Linked DNA regions of Homo sapiens: regions 2 and 3 are each linked to region 1. The links are contacts of gene promoters, found by promoter capture Hi-C in blood cells and fetal thymus (Javierre and others, 2016). All regions are on one chromosome and are shown on one strand. Each heading gives the region's core, a stretch centred on a gene start or on the middle of the fragment in contact. The rest is flanking DNA. Distances are from core to core; before and after follow the strand shown.

Region 1 (2,700 bases), core at 155-2,654:
ATACTGAGATTATAGGTGTGAGCCACCGCGCCCGGCAAAAGGGCTGCATGGTTTGCATCCTCCTTGGGGATGTCTCTTACATCCATGGTTAAGTGATAAAAGGCTTATAGGTTTTAAGCCATAAAAACTTACTGGTTTTGAGTCACAATTAAGACAGGTATACCTTTGAAGATTTGAACTTTTATATCTAAAAGGATTTTTTTTTAAAAGAAAGCTGTCATCCTAAACAAATGTCTATGGAAAGATGAGATCGAAAGAAAATATTAATAGGCAAAGATGAGAATCAATTTTTATCAAAATTATTAAATTTTGTGTTTATGTATACCTAATCATGGCTAAGATTTTAAATGAAAATTATAAGATCTATTTGTGTCTGTCTTTATGTTTATGCCTATATGTGTGTGTTGTGTATATGTGATATGTCTCTACCTCCTGATATTGCACCACTACTTGACAGTATAATTCAGAATGTCTGGGGAAGGACCTTAGCATCTGAATTTTTAAAAAGCATGCCAAAAGATTTGAACAAGCAGCCAAGATTGGGAACTAATTATCTGATTAACGAATGACATCTCTAATTCAATTCCCTCTAGTGCACAGCACCTTTTCTTATAGCTAAAAATGATTGCTAAATCCACACTGTAATAATTTTTTCAATGTATAAGGATAGAAACCCAAAAAAAATGGAACAAGAAACCAACAAGAGCTCAAGGGAATTGTGACTCCTACAGCTGTTGAGGGAGACAGCAGGTCAAAAAGTAGCAGAAACTTGATCAGAACAATAGCAACAGTATTAGCAGCTAAATTAATAGCAGTGAATCCATCTCGGCTCTAATTACAACAACTATTAGGATTATGGAGGCTACTATAAAAATTGAATGAGAAAGTCAGTGAGATGCACTGTTTAATTTCCTTTCTGGCTCTTTCACTGTTTCTTTTTGTTTTGTTTTTTCCCTTTTCCTTGCCAATAAAAAATATTTGTTGAGTAACTCAGGCCTACTGTACAAAGTAACAATTCTCTCCTCCCTTTCCATCTTCTTCCTCTCCAGTTCTACTTCTGAGAAAGTAATCCTTAATAACAGTTTGGTGTGTATCCAAAAAAGCTTTTTTGTAGCATTATTCTCCAAAGTGTTTGAAGCATTTCTTCTGATAAAGTTTCTTTAGTCTTTAGCCAGAACTAGTCTTTGGCCCACTTAGTCTATTGATAAACAGGAAATAGCACATATTCCCCCCTTGAGGCTAGAATGGCAGGCCTAAAATGAGTAGGAGAATTCTGAGAAATGGAAACTTTAAAAAGGCGGCAACCTTCTAGTTTCATTCTCAGAAATACCAAAGCAGCATTTTTCCTGGACTTGTTCTGCAGAGCGCTCAGATTTGAAAGCCATTTCTAGCCTTTGAGGATTACCACTGTCCTCAGCCAAACTGCAGGGACTCCTAAGTAGATCAGAGCTCCTGGAACTTTCTCATCTTTTCAGCATCTCAACCCTGTGGAATCTTTTAACTCCCAAGGTAAGTACAGATTGTCCAGAGAGATCTAAGCCATGCTTATTCAATGGAATGGAGAGTCTCTCAAAGAGACCTCATAACTCTAAGATGAAAATCTCCTCTGTGGCTACAGACTTTTCCAGATATACCCACTTTAGGCAAGAGAGGATGAAGTAGACACTTTAGGTCTACACTTTTAATAAATAAGTGAAATAGACAATGAGAGGAGCTGGTCCTTAGACTGTACTCACCTTGTAGCTGAGGCCAGGGATGTAGGACTCAAGCCCAGAGGAACCTGGCTGGGCTGAGAGAAAGAGATGTAGAGGGTTCTCATAGTTCTGGGGAACAAACCTTCAGATAAGACAAGTGAGGAGACTTGGGAGGAAGGGATGCCTGTGAAGATTCTCTTTTTTTTTTGAGACAGGTTCTCACTCTTTCGCCCAGGCTGTCGTGCAGTGGTGCGATCACAACTCACTGCAGCTTCGACCTTCCAGGGCTCAAAGGATCCTCCTGCTTCAGCCTTTGAAAGTGCGGGGACTACAGGCACTGAGCGTGAGGGTGCCTGGCTAATTTTTTTCGTTTCTGTAGAGAGGAAGTCTTGCTAGATTGACCAGGCTGGTTTCAAACTCCTGACCTCAAGTAATCGTCCCACCTTGGCCTCCCAATGTGCTGGGATTATAGACATTAGCCACCGTACCCAGCCTCGCCTGTGAAGATTCTTTAGCAGTTAGCTGATTGCTTCATCACTATGAAAAGGGGTTTCTTATTTTTCTTATTTTTTTTTTTTTGAGACAGGCTCTCACTCTGTCACCCAGGCTGGAGTGCAGTGATGCAATCGTGGCTCACTGCAGTCTCAACCTCCCTAGGCTCAAGTGATCCTCCCGTCTCAGACTCTCGAGGAGCTGGGACTATAGACCATGCACCACCACACCCAGCTAATTTTTTTATATTTTGTAGAGACTGGATTTCCTTGCTCAGACTGGTCTCAAACTCCTGGGCTCAAGCAATCTGCCCACCTTAGCCTCCCAAAGTGCTGGGATTACATGCATGAGCCACTGAGCCCAACTGTGTTTTTTTGTTTTTCGTAATATATAAACTATTTTGTTTTCAGAGAAACTTAAGCTATATTGACTGGGAAACTGTGATCTAGTTGGATTTAGATATAATGTTTGCAAATGTGTCACTGCATTGGGTCTTTTTGTTTACCAACATTAA
Region 2 (2,700 bases), core at 152-2,651, 130 kb after region 1:
AAGTGAAGACTGGTCGTCGCTTCAGTGAAGAAAGAGATCCTGAACTTTCAACTGTTTGCCGGAAGTTTGGTACATTAATGTTATATCCAGGGGCTAATATAAGAAGCTGCTAATCTGGAAGAATTTATATTAGATTCTCCTGTTTATCCTTCTACAATCATCGTCATTGATGGTACACGGAGCCAGGCTAAGGACATTTTCTGTAAGAATTCCTTGTTCTGACACCCCCAAACAGGTGCAGTTAAAAACGAGCATTTCTAGTCAGTATGTAATTCGGATACAGCCAATTAATAGATGTCTTTCTACACTGGAGTGTGCACCTGTTGCTCTTTCCATCTTGGAGAAAAATAATTACATACAAGAGACTTTGCTTCGCCCTCTTGAAGCTTTATGCTCTTTCCAGATTTAGCATGGTGCCCAAATTGGCCCCAGCAAGCAACGCCTTCTGAAAAAATGGATTATATCCTAAACCAATGCCAAAGAACAAACACAAACTCAGGAAAATGGAACTATTAAAGAATAGTGTTAAAATTTAGTACAGTTGTTCTTTTGGTGTTAGCTTACCTGTCTTCATCTAACAATACCAACTTAAGTTTTCATATAGTTTAGGTCTGTAGGTTTTTGACTTGCTAATGAGAATTGCATACTAATCTTGCCCAGAAGAAGGAAGTAAACCAAATATTCATAGAAACAAACAAACGAATGAAAATTCACTGGCTCACTGAAAAGGAAGATTTCATACTGTACTTGTTTTTAAACATGTGCCTCTAATAATACATGTTTTCAAACCCAAATTTAAAGTGTGATTTGTTGTTGAGCTGGGTTAGAAGTTCTTGCTTGTAAAATAGAAGGAAATCCTTGTGGTAGATTGGAACAGTATTGTTTCCATTAATGTTTATAAATAAGTAGGTGTAGACCAATAATATAAGATACCTACATCAATTTGCAGTCCTAACTTTATAGTTTGAAGTAAGTAGCAAAAGAAAATTATGATAATTAATTCATTATTTTGTAAAACACTATAAAGGAATAAGAAAACTTTATTGTTAGGGGCTAAATTTGAATTTAGCTAATACGATTTAAGTGTTCTATTAATTGCCCTGATTTTTAAAGAGGTACATGTAATTTTGAAATAGCACACATTTTCATTTGCAATCACTCTGGGGATAAATTTTTATTTTTCAGTGTTCATTGAACAGGCTTATTGACTATGGTAAACTTATTTTATTGAAGTTTTCAACCGGAAAATAGTAAGTGGAATATGATACAACTGTTATTTTCAGAACATATTTCTTTAGGGCTATTTAAAATAACCTTTTTAAAGGGCAAAAACTTTCAATTTGAGAGAACAAATTCCTCTCCTCTGTGGGAAAATATTGGCTGAGATTTTGTATAGAATAAGAGACATGTATGTAACATATATTTATATTCAGCATAAGTCTACTGCAATCATGTACACATCTTAGCAAGACGAGAGGATTTTGTTTAGTCTTTGTTTATGACTTCTACAGTTTCCTGTATCTAGTGTTAAGTTGTAAGGAAAAACTAAACATGCAATTTAAAGGTAAACTTGATAACTATTTATGGAACATAAGCATACACCAATGGTTATTTCTCACAGTTTTCATGCGCATTTGTTTATTGTTTACTTGGATTAGGCTCATTAAAAACCATAATGCTGGTCACAATTAGAATGCTAATATTTGGGGAAGCTATGCAGAAAATATTTTAAAATAGTAAAAGTTAGAGTGCTATCTTCTGTTGTTGATTTATTTTTGGATTTAAAAACAAATTAGGGCTGGGCCCAGTAGCTCACACCTGTAATCCCAGCACTTTGGGAGGCTGAGATGTGAGAATTGCTTGAGCCCAGGAGTTTGAGACCAGCCTGGGCAACACGGTGAGACCCCAACTCCACGCAATTTTTTTTTTTAATAATTAGCCAGACATGGTGGTGTGCACCTGTGGTCTCAGCTGCTTGGGAGGCTGAGGCAGGAGGATTGCTTGGGCCCAGGAGGTCGAGGCTGCAAGGAGCTGTGTTTATTCCACTGCACTCCAGCCTGGATTACAGAGTGAGACCTATCTCCATAAATAAATAAACAAATTAGCTCATTTACAGTGTAAAACACCTAATATCAGATGATTATTTGGTGCTCTAGAAAAGAAATAGCACATAATACTATATAATATAGTTTCTTAACAAGTGGGGCTAAAAATCATTTTATAGTAATTTTTCACATTGATATTAAACTTCATGAGTTTCCTTTAGTCATTATTATTTTTTAAAAAGAAAACTCCCCCCACCCCTAATATACCATTTTGTATCTCAAAATTTTACTTTGTTGATTTTTAAAGAGTAATTTCTACTTTTATCTTTTAAATAAAACATTTTTGTGTATTTTTCAAGACAAAAAGCTTAACATTTAGTGTTTTTGGAAATGTATTAACGTTTTCTTGAAGTATGTATAGTTTTCCAAATTATTTTACTGATCTGTTAACGCACTTTACTTGTTTTTAACTTATTTTTTCATGACCCCTTTACAAGGTGAGTCCATTTAATCATCTGTGGTATAAAATGCTTCTCTAGCCACCTGTTCTCATTAAACAGTTTTAAGTAAGTTTTAAAAGCCATTCTTTTAATTACTAAAAGTTCTCAAAGTGTGTAGTATTATGTGAATATTTTAACTGAAAATTTAATCAGGC
Region 3 (2,700 bases), core at 54-2,553, 240 kb after region 1:
ACCTGAGAGGGGCTTCTGGCTGATTTTGGTCAGGAGCACACTCTCTTACAGATTAAGCGTATTTGTTGATTTTAGGGTGAGAGAGCTTATCATAGGCTTGGAATGTTTCTTTGTGGGGAAGAAGTTTATTGTGGGTTTGGAATGTCTCTGGTAGGAGGGGAGGTTGTCTTGGGGCTGACATCTCTCTGGGGAGGGGTTTATCTTATGGTTGAAATGTTTCTGGTCAGAGATGTCATTTATGGTTTATGGTCATGCTGGCCTTAGCCTTTAGGCTGATGCCCTGTGGATTTAGGTGGTTTTTGATTAAGGGGAACTTTAGAATGGTGGTGTTTGTCCAAGATGGTGATGCTCCTGTTCTGTCAAAGTCCCTAGGCTGCACACAGCACAGGGATCCTCTGTCCAGCCCAGGAAACTACTTTTTCCTCCTGGGCCTCCAGACCTGTGATGGGAGGGGCTGCTGTGAAGGTCTCTGACATGGCCTAAAGACATTTTCCCCATGGTCTTGGGGATTAACAGTAGGCTCCTCACTGCTTATGCAAATTTCTGCAGCTGGCTTGAATTTCTCCCCAGAAAATGGGGTTTTCTTTTCTATTGCATAGTCAGGTTGCAAACTTTCCAAACTTTTATGCTCTGCTTCTGTTATGAAATTGAATGCCTTTAACAAGTCACCTCTTGAATGCTTTGCTGCTTAGAAATTTCTTCCACCAGATACCCTAAATCATCTTTCTCAAGTTCAAAGTTTTACAAATTTCTAGGGCAGGGGCAAAATGCCACCAGCCTCTTTGCTAAAACATAACAAGATCCACCTTTACTCCAGTTCCCAACAAGCTCCTCATCTCCATCTGAGACCACCTCAGCCTAGACCTTATTGTCCATATCACTATCAGCATTTTGGTCAAAGCCATTCAACAAGTCTCTAGGAAGTTCCAAACTTTCCCACATTTTCCTGTCTTCCTCTGGGGCTTCCAAACTGTTCCAACTTCTGCCTGTTACCCAGCTCCAAAATCACTTTCACATTTTCTGGTATCTTTTCAGCAATACCCCTCTACTGGTAACAATTTACTATATTAGTCTGTTTTCATGCTGCTGATAAAGACATACCCAAGACTGGGAAGAAAAGGAGGTTTATTGGGACAGTTCCACATGGCTGGGGAAATCTCAGAATCATGGCGGGAAGTGAAGGCACTTCTTACATGGTGGTGGCAAGAGAAAATGAGCTAGAAGCAAATGAGGAAACCCCTGATAATCCCATCAGATCTCATGAGACTTATTCACTATCATGAGAATAGCATGGGAAAAGACGGCCTCCATCATTAAACTACCTCTCCCTGGGTCCCTCCCATAACATGTGGGAATTCCGGGAGATACAATTCAAGCTCAGATTTGGATGGGGACACAGCCAAACCATATCAATGACTGTACTAATTTACATTTCCTCCAACAGTGTACAAGAGTTTTCTTTTTTCCTCATCCTCTCCAACACTTGTTTTCATTCATCTTTTTTGTAATAGTCAATCTAACAGCATGAGGTGATATATTATTGTGGTTTTATTTACATTTCCCTGATCAGTAATATTGAGCATTTTTCCAAATATCTATTGGCCATTTGTGTGTATTTTGAAAAATGTGTATTCACATTGTTTGCCCAGTTTTTAATCAAGTTATTTGTTTCTTTCGATTGAGTCATTTGAATACCTTGTATATTTTGGATATTAGCCCATTTTATGCTGTATAATTTGCAAATATGTTCTCCCAATCCGTGGACTGTATCTTCACTCTGTTAATTATTTCCTTTGCTGTGCAGTAGTTTTTTTTGTTTGATGCAATACCATTTGTCTATTATTGTTTTCATTGCCTGTACTTTTGGGACCTAGCAAAGAAATCACTGCCCAGAACAAGCTCACGTTTTTTATGGTAAGAAGGAAAAGTCTATATTCTGAAAAGATGGCAGATGTTTTATTTAACCAGAAATTAACTGCCTTCAAGGACCCTTTTTTAGATTCTTTCTGAGGATCCTTGAAGGGAGTCCATTTCCTGGAAATTAACGCAGGAAATGGGAGTTTCAAGGATGGAGATTCTTTAGGCATGAGTATAGTCTAGAGGAAGATGTGACAAATCACATAATTGGGCTTCAAGCAGTGATGGCCCAGGAAGGCCTAACTGGACTCCTAAGGACTCAGCAGAACTGAAGGCATTTGAGAGCACTCACTCCTTCTGTCAGACTCTCTCCAAAGTTAAATCAAGGAGAAATATTGTTTTTTCCATTATGCTGATGCAGCCTGACCACTGTGAGGACTGTGGGACTTTACAAGGATGGTGTTAAAAGTAGAGGTAAACAGCAAGATTTCACAATCATGCAAAGGAAAGAAAAGGGCGCTATAAAAATATATTAACTAACCAGCCAAGGAAAGGGAAAGGGGAGAAAAACAAGAAAATTCAGTGTTGCAAAAGTGATAATTTGCAACTGACAATGTTTGCTCTGATTCTGTTTTTCTACCCTGCCCCTGCCTCTGCCTCTCTTGGCCTCTCCAAGACCTGACACAATGCCCGCCCCGCCCGTCCCATCCTTCATATCCACACTCAATCACAGTGTGAATGTCAAGACTGAGAAGAACCTGCCCTAGGGTTTCACATGGCAGCTTTTTGCTCACTGAGGCCTCCCTGACTTCCCAGTCTAATGTACCAACTCCTCTTACCAGA

The links. Contacts are between HindIII fragments. The CHiCAGO score rates a contact against its expected background, and 5 or more counts as called.
Region 2: a fragment that was not itself captured here is called in contact with the fragment with the promoter of SLFN12L in region 1 in 4 of 17 cell types (total CD8 T cells, activated CD4 T cells, naive CD8 T cells and 1 more); the score reaches 8.3 in total CD8 T cells.
Region 3: a contact is called between a fragment that was not itself captured here and the fragment with the promoter of SLFN12L in region 1, in 17 of 17 cell types (naive CD8 T cells, activated CD4 T cells, non-activated CD4 T cells and 14 more). The highest score is 27.8, in naive CD8 T cells.

What each region holds. Positions count from the first base shown.
Region 1 is chr17:35,536,382-35,539,081 of GRCh38, reverse strand. It overlaps SLFN12L (schlafen family member 12 like), which reads left to right and starts at 1,404. Exons shown (of 5, transcript NM_001363830.2): 1 at 1,404-1,509. RefSeq lists an enhancer at 1,997-2,076. The HindIII fragment of the contact is 3,143 bases long and covers 1,106-2,700 here.
Region 2 is chr17:35,404,778-35,407,477 of GRCh38, reverse strand. It overlaps the pseudogene LOC729839. Among named protein-coding and RNA genes, the nearest start is that of SLFN12, 26 kb to the left of the region's middle. The HindIII fragment of the contact is 2,026 bases long and covers 389-2,414 here.
Region 3 is chr17:35,295,299-35,297,998 of GRCh38, reverse strand. No RefSeq gene overlaps it. Among named protein-coding and RNA genes, the nearest start is that of SLFN5, 54 kb to the right of the region's middle. The HindIII fragment of the contact is 4,202 bases long and covers 1-2,700 here.